Regions from separate parts of the Homo sapiens genome. Here regions 2, 3 and 4 are each linked to region 1. The links are contacts of gene promoters, found by promoter capture Hi-C in blood cells and fetal thymus (Javierre and others, 2016). All regions are on one chromosome and are shown on one strand. Each heading gives the region's core, a stretch centred on a gene start or on the middle of the fragment in contact. The rest is flanking DNA. Distances are from core to core; before and after follow the strand shown. Region 1 holds the start of THBS4-AS1 (THBS4 antisense RNA 1). Region 2 has its middle 4.8 kb from the start of SPZ1. Region 3 overlaps LOC105379048 (a long non-coding RNA gene). Region 4 overlaps SERINC5 (serine incorporator 5).

Region 1 (3,577 bases), core at 616-3,115:
GCCCAGGGAGTTACCTGGGGGAGAGCATACCACACCTGCTAGCTCATCCCGTCAGTCTGCAACTGGCTAGCTTCTCTCAAGTGCTTCCTGATTTTCACTTTTTTTTTTTTTTGTTTTTGTTTTTGGAGACACGTCTTGCTCTGTCGCCCAGGCTGGAGTGCAGTGGCACGATCTCAGCTCACTGCAACCTCCGCCTCCCGGGTTCAAGAGATTCTTGTGCTTCAGCCACCTGAGGAGCTGGGAGTATAGGCAGGAGCCACTGCACCTGGCCTAATTTTTGTATTTTTAGTAGAGATGGGGTTTTACCATGTTGGCCAGACTGGTCCCAAACTCCTGACCTCAAGCGATCCTCCCACCTAGGCCTCCCAAAGTGCTAGGATTACAGGTGTGAGCCATAGCACCCCACCCATTTTCACTTTTCTTACTTCATTTCTTATGCAAGAAATTTTCTGAAAGCCTCAAGTTTTCTACATCAGCTTCAAAAATATAAGGAGGGCCAACTAGGAATAGGACAAGGTAGAATAATCACTTGTGTGCTGATAAATATTTAACAACCAGTTCTCTGGAGCCCTGATTTGTAGTGTTTGCCAGTTTCTGTGTAAATACTCCCACCATGGCCAATTTCAAACTACCAACCGTTTAACTGGCTCACAATATTCCTAAAACTTGAATAGTTGGCTCTTATGAGCTGGTAGGAGTTGGCTTCAGCACACTGCTGGTTCTACATGCGTCTTTGTTTCTTGTTTTGCATAAATAACAAGTTTTGTCTTCCCAAAAATGTAATAAGCTCCCTAAGGGATGGAATTATGTTCTGGATCTCCTGTGGGCCCATGGTTTCTAAAATAGTTATAGACACAAAAGATTTAACCAAGAGAGTCTGTTTCCTGTGGACATACTGCGTTCTTGGGCTTGCACAGCCGACAACAGGGAGGCTGCCCCAGGGGTGGGCATGGTGTGGGTTGCTGCCTCCTTTCACCAGCCTCACTCTCATTGCCCAGGCTGGAGTACAGTGGTGCAATCTCTGCTCACTGCAGCCTCTGCCTCCCCAGCTCAAGTGATTCTCCCACTTCAACCTCCCAAATAGCTGGGACTATAGGCAAGTGGCACCACACCTGGCTAATTTTTGTATTTTTAGTAGAGATGGGTTTCGCCACGTTGGCCAGGCTGGTCTTGAACTCCTGGCCTCAAGTGATCTGCCTGCCTTGGCCTCCCAAAGTGCTTGGGACCACAGGCAAGTGCCACCACACCTGGCCCCATTGGAGTTTTTGATGTAGGAGATCAGATGTCCTGGATTACAAGGCCACACACATCTCCAGGCTGTACATGAGAGGAGGATGTCCAGAAATCCTCCAGATCTCATGCATGCACCATTGTATTTTCTCACTGTTAAAGTCATGATAAAACTGTGGTGTTTTTTTCTTCATACATGATTTAATATATCTCTAGGAATTCTGGAATAAGAAAATATATAACCGCACAGCAATATTCTTTGAAACAAAATTTCTAGAGAATTTATAAAAATTTGCTTGGATCTTGATTTACAATTGAAATACAAGAAAGGCTAGTGTACAAATTAGGCAAGTTTCTGTGCTGTACATCCAGCTACTGGTACCACAAATAGAGGATATGTTGTGACTTTTTGAGTTGAGGAGGACTTTTATGATCATGTACACTCTACTGTCCTTTAAGAGGCATTCATTCATTCATTCTTCGTTTATTAATTCAGTAAACATTTACTGGCTATTTACTACATTCCAGGTACTGTGGGGATATTGATTGTAATGACATGATCCTTTATTGTCAATATGCTTACAGTCCACTAGGGGGAGCCAAATATATAAATAAGCTTAAGAATTACGTTGAAGGGGCCAGAATAGAAGTCTGTGGAAGGTGTGGGATGGGATGACAGCATCAGAAAGAATTGGGCAAATCTGTCCCAGGACTAGGTCAGAAAAACGCCTCCCTAGGGAAGGTGCCACCCCAAACACGTGTTTCTGAGACCCCTTACCCGAAATAAGGAGGCTGCCAAGGTGAGCATGGAACGGTTAGGCGTTTTGTATGGAGCAAACTGGGGGGACCCCAGCTGAGACCTCTGGCCTGGGCCTTGTGATTCACGCATAGGCTCATCTTATCGGCCACCGGGTCTGAGAAGAAACTACCACCCTGCAAGTTAACAGGGATCCCTCCGAGAACGGGCACCTCAAAGCCTGAGCCACGTGAGAGCAATGTCTGAGCAACACGGTTTTTAAAAATGATCTCTTCTCCTTTATTGCCACATTCACATAAAACGTTTTGATATATTTGGGTTGGTAAAAGCTAAAGAAAATTGAAGTTAAAATATATATGGTTTTAGTGTTCCGAAAAGCAGTTACAGATTGCTTCCTTGGTTTAATTATCGAAGCGGTCGAAATTCTGGGTTTGAAACTCTTGGAAGTCCTCAGGGATGGTGTCTGCAATAGGAATGGGCACAGGGAGGTTAGCGAGGCTCCTTCCACCCCGGACCCCGGACCCCCGCCCGCGGCTCAGGCGTCCTGTAGGGGGCGCTGTTAGCCCGCCCAGGACGCCCCGCAGGCCCTCGCCGCCATTTTCTCCTGCAGGCTGCTTTGCAAACCGTTGGCTTAAAGCCCAGGAGTGCTCCTTCCCGGCCGTGCAGAAAATCAGCAGGCAGAATGGATTTTGCATCTGTGATTATGTTTTAACCACATGAAAATAAAGGCTTCCTGTAAATTAAATCTGACTGGATTTCTCACTGAACCCCAAACCCTAAACCATGCAGTTAAATTCTATGGGTCTTAATTTCCACATGGATAAAATAGGATAAATGTGATCTGCTTTTTACTTCTGGTACACAGGGACTATCAGGTTTTAATGACTATGTGGTATGAGCGTTGGGCTTTTGGGGGGGAAGTGCGGTATAAAAATAAGGTGGCAGTGTTTGACTAATTCTAGTAACAATGTTGAACAGTAACGAGAATGCACATTACCATTGCAGCGATACTTGAGGTTGGACCAGATGATGTTTTCTTGAGAGAAGCAGAAAACGCCAAGTCGGCCTCCACGCATTGTGGTGTCTATGGTGACGCCAGAGTCAGCCACCAACTCAGAGCCTTCATAAAATCGTACCCTGCGGACAACACGGCCGGAGGGGCCTCCATGAAATCCAACCCGGGGTAAAGTGCCCACTGTGAGGCCCAGGGGCCCCACTTCTTATACGTACCTGCGTCTTTCTTTGCTCTGTTTTAGGCTCCATTTTTCGCTGACCTGGATTGTACTGTAGCTGTTGCCACTTACTTACTAGACTGGAAGTCCTTGAGGGCAGGGACCGTGTGTGTCCGTGTGTGTGTGGAGGGGGGTGGGGGGTGTTTCTTCCCAACTTCTGTCTCTCACAAGGCCTAACATGATGTTGGTCACACTATCAAACTTGAGTTAAAAATCAAACCAAACCAAACCTGCTATCTTGAGTGAGAAAGTTTTGTGTCTTATTGTCATGTGAGTTGCCTTGTCTAGATACCATGCTTAAAAACTTTGGCTTTTCCTTTGGTCTGATTTATATCTTTTGGTGGAATCTCAGAGCAAT
Region 2 (3,577 bases), core at 437-2,936, 240 kb before region 1:
AAAAGAAAAACACTCAACTGGCTGTGACACTCCAATGATGATCTGCCTGAGGCCTTTATTAAGGTAAGAAAAATTTAAATGATTTTCTATATCAATCAAGTTTGTAGAATAACTTTATAAAAATAATAATATTGATGTGATAATGATGATAAATCCACTCCTCTGCCTCACACTAATCTAGGATAGCTGTCTTTTTAATGTAATACTTATCTTTCTTTTTACTTGCAACATACCAATGACCCCAACTTCCAGATATCCTGTGTGCCTGGGGTTTTTGCTATTGTTCCCTTCCTTTTTAGCCAGGCTTGCTTCTGATTAGTTTCTAATTCTCCCATTTAATCTATTCCTACTTCCCAGAGAGCAATAAGACCTCAGCTGAGGGAGCCAGAGAATCTTTGAACCATTTGTCCATGGTCCAAAAGAAAATTATTGTCACCACCTTTTAAATGAAGCAACTCAGACTGAAACAAGTTGAGACTTAGATTATCTCCCTGTTTGTGAAATGCTTCTTCCATTATTTCACCCTTACTTTATATATATATAAAGTGCCTCATACTTTCTTATTGGAAAGGTTAGAAAGGGCTCAAAGCATAGACAAGCAAAAAGGACTTGAAAACACCCATTGTACAACTTATAGACAATCAACCTAAATACTATGATGAATTTTTTCTGGATCAATTCAAGATAAATTAAAGAAATAAATGCGAAAGACAAGAAATTAAAAGGACTTTGGAAGGCTTTTATTCATGATATAAGGAAAGATTTCTTTCTATTTTTTTTTTTTTGAAATGGAGTCTCACTCTGTCTTCCAGGCTGGAGGGCAGTGGCGCGATCTCGGCTCACTGCAACTTCTGCCTCCCAGGTTCAAGCGATTCTCCTGCCTCAGCCTCCCAAGTAGCTGGATCTATAGGTGCATACCACCACACCCAGCTAATTTTTGTATTTTCAGTACAGACGGGGTTTTGCCATGTTGGCCAGGCTGGTCTTGAACTCCTGCCCTCGGGTGATCCACCTGCCTTGGCCTCCCAAAGTGCTGAGATTACAGGCATGAGCCACCGTGCCTGGCCAAGTGAACTACACAATTCTTTATTAATCAAGGTGCTTGGAGAATAGTGTGGAGGGTATCTCCATTTGAAGGAAAGACAGGTGGAAAGAAGTGTGTAATTTTTTTAAGGACCCCCAATATTATTTAAGTGTGGCAATCTCTTTTTATTTCACTAAGGGCTGTAACAAGAAAGTGTTGGCTTTTAGCTTTTGAATAAAGTGATACATATTCCAAACATAGAAAGCAATGTTGGTTTAGGAGTAGGGAGCAGTATTTCAGGTTGTCATTTTGGTACTTCCAACATATGAAAATCTCTTGTGCCCCCTGCTACATGTATAATAGAACCTGTGGTGGAGATTGTGATTGTCTTTGCTGGGTTGTTAATATTCATCTTTATGTTGCCCTGAATGCATACATGAAGTTTTTGCACCAGAGACAGATTATTATGATAATTACTGTGCTGGATTCCCTTGTCCTAGTTCTTATCCCTGGGGGGATGCAATAAGAACCAGATGTCATCCTCTATGTAATGAGGTCTGTACTGTAAGTGAGGAATTCTGAGAAAATGAAACTGAGCATTTATATAAAAGAGAAAGACAGCTGTCCTCCTCCCCTTCTAAAAGAAGAGAGAAAAAAGGAGGGGCACGGTGGCTCACACCTGTAATCCTAGCATTTTGGGAGGCCAAGGCGGGCGGATCACCTGAGGTCAGGAGTTCAAGACCAGCCTGACCAACATGGAGAAACCCCGTCTCTACTAAAAATACAAAATTAGTTGGGCATGGTGGTGGGCACCTGTAATCCCAGCTACTTGGGAGGCTGAGGCAGGAGAATCACTTGAACCTGGGAGGAAGAGGTTGCGATGAGCCAAGATTGTGCCATTGCACTCCAGCCTGGGCAACAAGAGCGAAACTCCATCTCAAAAAAACAAAAGAGGAAAAAAAAAAAACCCTTTACCCCTGGAAGGCAAGATGGAGAGGATCCTGGGTTCTCACTCCAACTTTTTGATTGATTGACTGATTGATTGAGACAGGGCTCACTCGGTCCCCTAGGCTGGAGTGCAGTGGCATGATCATGGCTCATTGCAGCCTCAACCTCCCAGGCTCAAGCAATCTTTCTATCTCAGCCTCCCAAGTAGCTGACACTACAAGCGTGTGCTGTCATGCCTGGCTAATTTTTGTAGTTTTTGTAGAGATGGGGTCTCCCTATGTTGCCCAGGCTGGTCTCAAACTCCTGGGTTCAAGCAATCCTCCCACCTTAGTCTCCTGAGTAGCTGAGACTACAGGTGTGCCCCACTATGCCTGGCTAATTTTTGTAGAGATGGGGGTCTCACTATATTGCCCAGGCTGGTCTCAAACTCCTGACCTCAAGTGATCCACCTGCCTCGGCCTCCCAAAGTGCTGGGATTACAGGTGTGAGCCACTGCACCCAGTCTCTCTGTCAACTTTCTCTGGGTCATCTCTGTGGTTCTATCTTCAAGTTCATAGAATCTTTTCTTTGACATCTATATTTTGTTATTGAGCACATTCGGTGAGGTTATATCATTTATATTTTTCAGTTCCATAATTTCCACTTATGTCTCTTTTATATTTATTTGCTGATACTTTCTATTTTTTCATTTGTTTCATGTTTGTAACTGTTCATGGACACATTTTTTTTTTTTTTTTTGAGATGGAGTTTCACTCTTGTTGGCCAGGCTGGAGTGCAATGGCATGATCTTGGCTCACTGCAACCTCTGCCTCCTGGGTTCAAGCAATTCTCCTGCCTCAGTCTCCCGAGTAACTGGGATTACAGGCATGTGCCATGACACCCAGCTAATTTTGTATTTTTAGTAGAGACGGGGGTTCTCCATGTTGGTCAGGCTGGTCTCAAACTCCCGACCTCAGGTGATCCACCCGCCTCGGGCTCCCAAAGTGCTAGCATTACAGGCGTGAGCCACCGCGCCTGGCCTGAAGCATTTTTATAATGACTGCTTTAAAATCCTTGTCAGATAACTCTATTGTCTGTGTTGTCCCATTGTTGGTATCTGTTAATTGTCTTTTCTCATTCAAGTTGAGATTTTTCTGGCTCTCAATATAATGAGTGATTTTTCTATTGTATTCTGGACATTTTAGGGATTGTTAGGAGACCCTGGATCTTAAGTCTTCTTTTTTAGTAGGGCCCTGCTGATGATGCCAGCAGGGAAAAGGAGTAGAAATCTAGGCTACTTACGTGGACTCCACTCTACTGGAGGGGTTGGGGGAGGCCAGGGAAGAGCACTGTTACCATCAGGTGGAGGATAGAACTTTAGGATCCCTACTCTTACCTCCTCTGCACCATCCCAGTAGAGTAGGGGAGGTGTGCCTCATGACTGCCAGGCAAGGATGAATGTCTAGGCTCTCTACTCAGTATCTGCCAACAGGGATGGGGGTAGAAATATGTTTCTATACAATTTGGCTGGATTAGGGCAGTTTTGTCAAAAAGGTTTCTGTCTCACCAGACTGTTCCTTTCCTCATCTGTTGACAAAAGAAAGCAGGCTTTATGGGGGAATTTTT
Region 3 (3,577 bases), core at 591-3,090, 160 kb after region 1:
CCATTCCATTTTTTGCCATGGGATGATGATACAGCACAAAGGTCATTGCCAGATGCCAGTGCCATGCTGTTGGACTTCCCAGCCTCCAGAACCATGAGCCAAACAAACTTCTATTGCTTGTTTATAAATTATGCAGTCTCAGGTACTTTATTATAGCAACACAAAATGGATTAAGACATGGTGTTAAAGCATAATTCTCAAACTGTTAAGAAACATAATTCTCATACATATAGATGACAAGCTCATGAAGGAACCAGTAACAAAATAAGAGCTAGTTTGAAAAAAATTTGAGGAACAGGGATTACATGGCTAGTGGGGAAAGGAATATAGAAATAAGATTGCTAAATAGATACAAAACAAGTTAATGCTCTATAGAGTAAAAAAAACCACACGCACAAATGCAGGCATTGGAGTTATCTTCTCTACCAAGCTGCCTTCTCCTCCCTCAAAAATCACCACACCTTATCATTTTTCTACAAGTTCATCTCTGACTTTTCAGGATGAAGACATGTGTAGACCATGGTCAAAAGCACTTTCCCTGAGTGAATCAGATGACCCTTCACAGACTATTTAGAAATGGCATGCAGCCATTAGATTTGCCTTATTTCTAAGTTTTAGATACTTTTTCCTGCATAGTGTCATAAACTTTATGTCCTGGGTCCTTTAGGGTTTATATTTTTGAAATGTCAAAGCTAATATTTGATTCTTGCTCTCAGCTTTTCTGTCATAATAACTCTTCCTTCTTAAACCTAGGAAAGAATAATCTTAAACCAGAGCTGGTATACGCTCAGAATTCAACCGAAAGTCACAGGAACAAGCAGTACCAGACTCTTCTGGAACTGGGGGTGTTAATGGATTGACAGGCACAGTGAGTACCTGAAATAGGGAATTAAGTGACTGTATATTTTCTCAGTGCTGAATGTAGAAACTCCCAGCCCTTCCCTCACTCAGTGCCAGAATGATGACACTCAGACCTTTACCATCTTGGAAGGAGATAGAAAACTCTCTGGCTCATTTTGCCAGTCCAAAGGAAAGACCTAAGGTAGGTCTTCCCCAACAAATGGGTTACTCACATCACCCTACAGTAAAGTGTAGGTTTCTCAAGTTCAAACTACATACTCAGAGCTCCCAAGCAGACTTTCAGTTTTTGTGTTAGTCTGTTTTTGCGTTGCTATAAAGAAATACCTAAGACTGAGCAATTTATAAAGAAAAGAGGTTTATTGACTCATGGTTCTGAAGGATGTACATGAAGCATAGAGCTGGCATCTGATTCTAGTGAGGGCTTTGGGAAACTTGTAATCATGGTGGAAGATGAAGGGGAGCCAGCATGTCACCTTGTGAGAGCAGCAGGACGAGAGAGAAGGGAGAGGTCCCAGACTCATTTAAACAACCAGATCTTGTGTGAACTCAGAGCAAGAACCCACTCATCACCAGTGAGATGGCACTAAGCCATCCATGAGGAATCCACCCCTGTGATCCAATCACTTCCCACCAGTGATTCCAACAATGAGGATTGCATTACAACATGAGATTTGGAGGGGACACACATCCAAACCATGTCAGTCCTCAACTCTAAATCATAAGCAGTCAATTGAAGAATACTAGACTTCTAAGGAAAGTCCTTAATTTGGAAGATATAGATGCAAACAAACAAAAAGAGAAAAAGCAACTCAAAAAATGGGGAGAATACTTTTTATTTTATTTTAGATTCAGGGGGTGCATGTGCTTGTTTGTAACACAAGTATATTGCATACTGGTGGGGACTGGGCTTCTAGTGTACCCATTACCCAAATAGTGGACATTGTATCTGATAAGTAATTTGAATACTTAAAAAACAAACAATTTCCAGGAATGTCATCAGAGAGCTAAGAGAAGATACTGCATTCGTAAAATTAGAACAGGACATTATATGTGTCCAACCCCACCCTCACTCCTGGCAAAGGAACATTCAGAGAACCAAAGAGCTCCTGGAAATTAAAAAGGTGATAGCAAAATGAAGAAGAAAAGTCATTAGAAGGGATGGAAGATAAAGTAGAACCCCAGCAGAAATACACACACAAAAAAGGAGAAAATTTAAAGGATTAGTCTAGGAGATCCAAAAGCAAAAGAATAGAAATTCCAAAAAGAAAAAAAAAAGAAACTGAGAAAACAGAGGGGAGGGGAGAAAATTGCCAATGAAATGATTCAGGGAAAGTTCCCAGCCTGAAGCACATGATTTTCCAGATTGGACAGTGCATCATATGCCAGCACTAGAAGCCAGACAGTAATAAGCAGCACCTTTACCACCCTGAGCCAGCATTTCCAATCTTTCCTTACTAGCATTCAGTATAAGCACAGAATAGACACATTTTGAAACATGCAAGGCCTCAAAAAATTTACCTTCCATGCATCTTTTTTTCAGGACTCTAGAGGAGGATTGTTACACCAAAATAAAGGATTAAACTCAGACAGAGGAAGACTTGGTATAAAGGAAACTGGAAATCCAACACAGGAGAGAAACAAGGGGCTCTCCAGGATGATGGTAAAGCAAGATCCCAGGACATCCACTGGGCACTAGAGGCTGAGGGCCACCAGCCCAAAATACATTAGTGTGACCTGAGACAGGCCTGTTGCTCAGACTGTCACCCATTCCCTCCTACCCTCCAAACAAGAGATTAAAGCAAGAGAGAAGATGTGAAATCAAGAACACAGAGAATACAGCCATGAAAATGGCAAAGGGAATGGCAAGGATAACAACAGAGGGAAGTTCGAGATGACAATTGAACAGTGGCTTAGAAATATTTGATATTTCTCTGTGTACTTATTATTTTTCATAAGAGAAAAAGAAATTTAAAAAATATGGAAGGATATAAGACAAAATATTAACAGCCCATATCTCGGAGTGGTAGCATAATTGATCATTAACTTCTTTGTATGGTATATTTTCTGGGTTTTTAAAAAGATATAAAGTATCTGTGCAATTAAAAAAAAATGGTTTTTTAAAAATTTCCCAACATTTTTATTTTTTAAGTGTACAATTCAGTGGCTTTTTTTAGTATATTTACAAAGTTGTGCAACTATTACCAGTACCTAATTCCAGAACATTTATTTCTCTGCAGAAAGAAACCTGTACCCTTCAGCAGTCACTCCCCATTCCTCAGCCTAATCCCTGGAAACCATTAATCTACTTTCTGTCTCTATAGATTTGCCTCTTCTGGGTTTTTCATGTCAATAGAATCATATAACATATTGCTTTTGTGTCTGACTTCTTTCATGTGCCATGAAGTTTTCAAGGTTCCATCCATGTAATAGCCAGTATCAGTATGTTATTTTTAAAAAAATTAATACTATTGCACTGAATGGATATACCATATTTTGTTTATACACCATTAAGCAGTTGATGCATATTTAAATTATATTCAGTTTTTGGCTATTATGAATAATGCTGCTATGAACAAGTTTTTTGTATGGACATATGCTTTTCCATTTCTCTTGAGTTAATACTGAGCAGTAGAATTGCTGGACCATGTGCTACCTCTACGTTTAACTTTTTAAGGAATTGCCTATCTGTCTTCCAAAGAAGCTGCATCATTTTACA
Region 4 (3,577 bases), core at 320-2,819, 140 kb before region 1:
TGAGGCAGGAGGATCATTTGAGGCAAGGAGTTCAAGGCTCCAAAGAGCTATGGTTGGACCACTGCGCTCCAGTGTGGGCAACAGAATGAGACCCTTTCTTAAACAAAAAAAAAATTCTTAATAGTTGAAAGAGAAAGGCAATGATGAAAGATTTGGATTGTGATTCAAATTTTATACATACTACAAGTGCCAAACTCAGTTTTCACTCTGTTTTATGCTGAGTGTCTATACATTTTTTCTTTCCTTCCTTCCTTCCTCCTCTCCCCCTCCCTCCCTCCCTCCTTTCCCTCCCTCCCTCCCTCCCTCCTTTCCTTCCCTCCCTCCTTTCCCTCCCTCCCTCCCTCCCTCACTCACTCTGCTGCCCAGGCTGGAGTGTAGTGCCGAAATCATAGCTCACTGTAGCCTTCTTGACCTCACAGGCTCTGGTGATCCTCCCATCTCAGTCTCCTGGGCAGCTGAGACTACAGGTGCATGCTACCATGCCTGGCTAATTTTTTTTTTTTTTCATATTATTTGTAGAGATGGGGTTTTGCCATGTTGCCCAGGCTGGTCTCGAATTCTTGGGCTCAAGTGATCCACCCACCTTGGCCTCTCAAAGTGCTGGGATTACAGATGTGAGCCACCATGCAGGCCAAGTGTCTGTACTTTTAACCAAAGTCCAGAATAATTGCTAGAAACTTTTAAACCTTCTTACCTTGTGTAAACACAGGTTTTTTCTTTTTTGTAAGTCAGGGTCTCACTCTGTCGTCCAGGTTGGAGTGCAGTGGCACTATCTTGGCTCACTGCAACCTCTGCTTTCCGGGTTCAAGCGATTCTCATGCCTCAGCCTCCTGAGTAGCTGGGACCGCAGGTGTTCGCCCCCACCCTGGCTAGTTTTTGAATTTTTAACTTTCAAATGATTGACTGCAAAAATCAGGTAGTCAATTTAAAAATAAACATCTACACATGCGATTCTTTTTTTTTTTTTGTATTTTTAGTAGAGACGGGGTTTCACCATGTTGTCCAGGCTGGTCTCAAACTCCTGGCTTCAAGTGATCCACCCGCCTGGGTCTCCCAAAGAGCTAGGATTAGAGGTGTGAGCCGCTGCTCCCGGCTGTAAACACAGTTTTATTATGAGGTGTGCTGTGACTCTCTAGAGACAGCTCTGCTCTAGAGACGGCACCATAGCAGCACAGGAAAGAGTTTAGGGCCTGGCTGACTGAGTTCCTATCTCGACCTTAGGAGAGACCTCAGTTTTCTCATTTGTGAAAAAAATGGAATTCGTTTTTCCTTTTTCTCTCTTTTCTTCCTTTATGTTTTCTCTACTTATTTTGTCTTTTCCTCATTTTTCAGTCAGTATAGCTTATAAAATTTTTTCTGATTATAAAAGTAGGGCATAGGCCAGGCGCAGTGGCTCATGCCTGTAATCCCAGCACTTTGGGAGGCTGAGGTGGGTGGATCACCTTAGGTCAGGAGTTCAAGACCAGCCTGGCCAACATGGTGAAACCTTGTCCCTACAAAAAATACAAAAATTAGCCGGGCGTGGTGGGGGGCACCTATAATCCCAGCTACTCAGGATGCTGAGACAGGAGAATTGTTTGAACCCGGGAGGTGGAGGTTGCAGTGAACTGAGATCATGCCACTGCACTCCAGCTCTGGGCAACAGAGCCAGACTCCATCTCAAAAAAAGTAGGGCATATTATGCCAAAAATTTAAATTATAATCCTCTTACTTGTGAAAAATGGCAATATGAGTATTTACTTCATGGGATTATTGTGAGGATGAAGTAAATCCATGCTAAGAACTGAGGACCCTACCTGGCACCTAGAAAATGCACAATGCAATTTCCTATTATTTAAAAAAATTATTATTAGTATCACTGCCACAAATTACAAGAAGAATGAAGAATGGCTTTCGGAACGGTGGTGGGATGCCCAAGGCTGTGCTGTGTTCTCGCAGAAAGCATTGGGAATGGCACATCTCAAGGTCAGGACTAGCCCTCACAAGGGGCAGCATCCAGTGGGCTCTTCTGACTGCTGTAGGTGCATGCACCTGTTTTAGGGTCTCTCTTGATTTTATGTTTCTATAGGGGAGTAGGTGGAGGAGGGGTCAAAACAGTATATTCCAGATATCCTGAGATCTGGTGAAGGAAAACTGGTTTTGGAATCCTGTTGGGCTCTGGAATCAGAGATCAGGATTTTGGTTTATCCCAAAGTGGCTTCTGGAAAGTCGGTTAACCTCTGAGACTCAGATTTCCTCATCTGTCAAATGGAGATTGTGATACTTCTATCAAAGGGTTATTTTTGGCCGGATGCAGTGGCTCATGCCTGTAACATGGCAAAACCCCGTCTCTACTAAAAAATACAAAAAATTAGCCAGGCATCATAGTGTGCACCTGTACTCCAGCTACTTGGGAGTCTGAGGCACGAGAATCGCTTGAAGTGGGAGTTGGAGGTTGCAGTGAGCTGAGATCGTGCTACCGCACTCCAACCTGGGGGGACAGAGTGAGACACTGTCTCAAACAAAAGGCAGGGGGGTGGTTTTTTTTTTTCCTTTGGGGAGATTAAATGAAAGGTCTTGAAAGCACCTTAGAGTAGTACCTTGATACATAGGAAGTACTTAAGAAATGATAGGTAACTATTACTTATAATGAGTGCTGGGTAGAAGGATCTCCTTGGTTACCAAAGACACTCACATCTTTAATTTTGGTGTTTCGATGGAAGCACAGGATATAATTCTCTGCCTCCTTAAATTGTTGAACGTGCTGCAAAGTTTGACATTTAGAAATAGAACTAGGGCTGTGGGGCTTTGTTCCGTCTTTAGGGCTTTGTTCTCTGCCCTTGCGTACACACTCGTGTGCATGTGTGAGTGCATATTACACAGGTGCATGGGATAACCCTACTCTTTTAAGGCAGTATGGAAGTAGCAAAGCTGCTGTCTTTGTCTTTTCGGGTGTTGCTGGTCTCCTCTGTCAGCACCATCAAGGCTTTGCTGCTCATTGCACTCATCCAGCAGGGTGCTATCAGGAAGAAGGAGAATGAGTTCCAAAAATAAGGTAACTTATTCAGGCTTCACATTTGTCTCTATGTTGGGAATGATGCTACTCTCCCTGCCTGCCTTGTGGAATGGTTATAAAGATAGAATGAGAGGAAGGTTGTGAAGGTGTGATCAAGGTGTTACACCAATCATTAAACATTATAAAGTATTGCAAACAAATGGACTTAGGAGTCACCTGACTGAGGCAGAAATTCCAGTTCTATTTAATAGGTTTGTCTGTGTTATTTGATCCACTTTCTCATTATAATAGAGGTGGATGATAACAGCATAGGGCTGTGATAAACATTAAATTCTGTAACTTATGTAAAGAATCTAGTGAAGTATATGTTGCACATAACAGGTACTCAAAAAGTTGTGTTTGGGTTAGTCAGGAGTTTGAGACCAGACTGGGCAACATGGTGAAACCCAGTCTCTACTAAAAATACAAATGTTAGCTGGGTGTGGTGGCGTGCCCCTGTAATCTCAGCTACTCGGGAGGCTGAGTCAAGAGAATTGCTTGAACCTGGGAGGCAGAGGTTGCAGTAAGCCAAGATCACGCCAT

What was found. Contacts are between HindIII fragments. The CHiCAGO score rates a contact against its expected background, and 5 or more counts as called.
Region 2: a contact is called between a fragment that was not itself captured here and the fragment with the promoter of THBS4-AS1 in region 1, in 9 of 17 cell types (neutrophils, non-activated CD4 T cells, naive CD4 T cells and 6 more). The highest score is 12.0, in neutrophils.
Region 3: a contact is called between a fragment that was not itself captured here and the fragment with the promoter of THBS4-AS1 in region 1, in 1 of 17 cell types (naive CD4 T cells). The highest score is 5.0, in naive CD4 T cells.
Region 4: a contact is called between a fragment that was not itself captured here and the fragment with the promoter of THBS4-AS1 in region 1, in 1 of 17 cell types (neutrophils). The highest score is 5.4, in neutrophils.

Annotation. Positions count from the first base shown.
Region 1 is chr5:80,081,953-80,085,529 of GRCh38, reverse strand. THBS4-AS1 (THBS4 antisense RNA 1) reads left to right here and starts at 1,865. Exons shown (of 8, transcript NR_109930.1): 1 at 1,865-2,030; 2 at 2,993-3,170. THBS4 (thrombospondin 4) reads right to left here. Exons shown (of 22, transcript NM_003248.6): 21 at 2,985-3,124; 22 at 2,243-2,450. The coding sequence ends at 2,389. RefSeq lists silencers at 1,137-1,351, 2,467-2,556. The HindIII fragment of the contact is 5,954 bases long and covers 1,849-3,577 here.
Region 2 is chr5:80,323,052-80,326,628 of GRCh38, reverse strand. No RefSeq gene overlaps it. Among named protein-coding and RNA genes, the nearest start is that of SPZ1, 4.8 kb to the right of the region's middle. The HindIII fragment of the contact is 7,032 bases long and covers 1-3,577 here.
Region 3 is chr5:79,920,108-79,923,684 of GRCh38, reverse strand. The region is part of intron 2 of LOC105379048 (a long non-coding RNA gene); the gene reads right to left. Among named protein-coding and RNA genes, the nearest start is that of LINC01455, 15 kb to the left of the region's middle. The HindIII fragment of the contact is 7,775 bases long and covers 1-3,577 here.
Region 4 is chr5:80,224,997-80,228,573 of GRCh38, reverse strand. All of the region lies in intron 1 of SERINC5 (serine incorporator 5), which reads left to right. Among named protein-coding and RNA genes, the nearest start is that of SERINC5, 29 kb to the left of the region's middle. The HindIII fragment of the contact is 9,320 bases long and covers 1-3,577 here.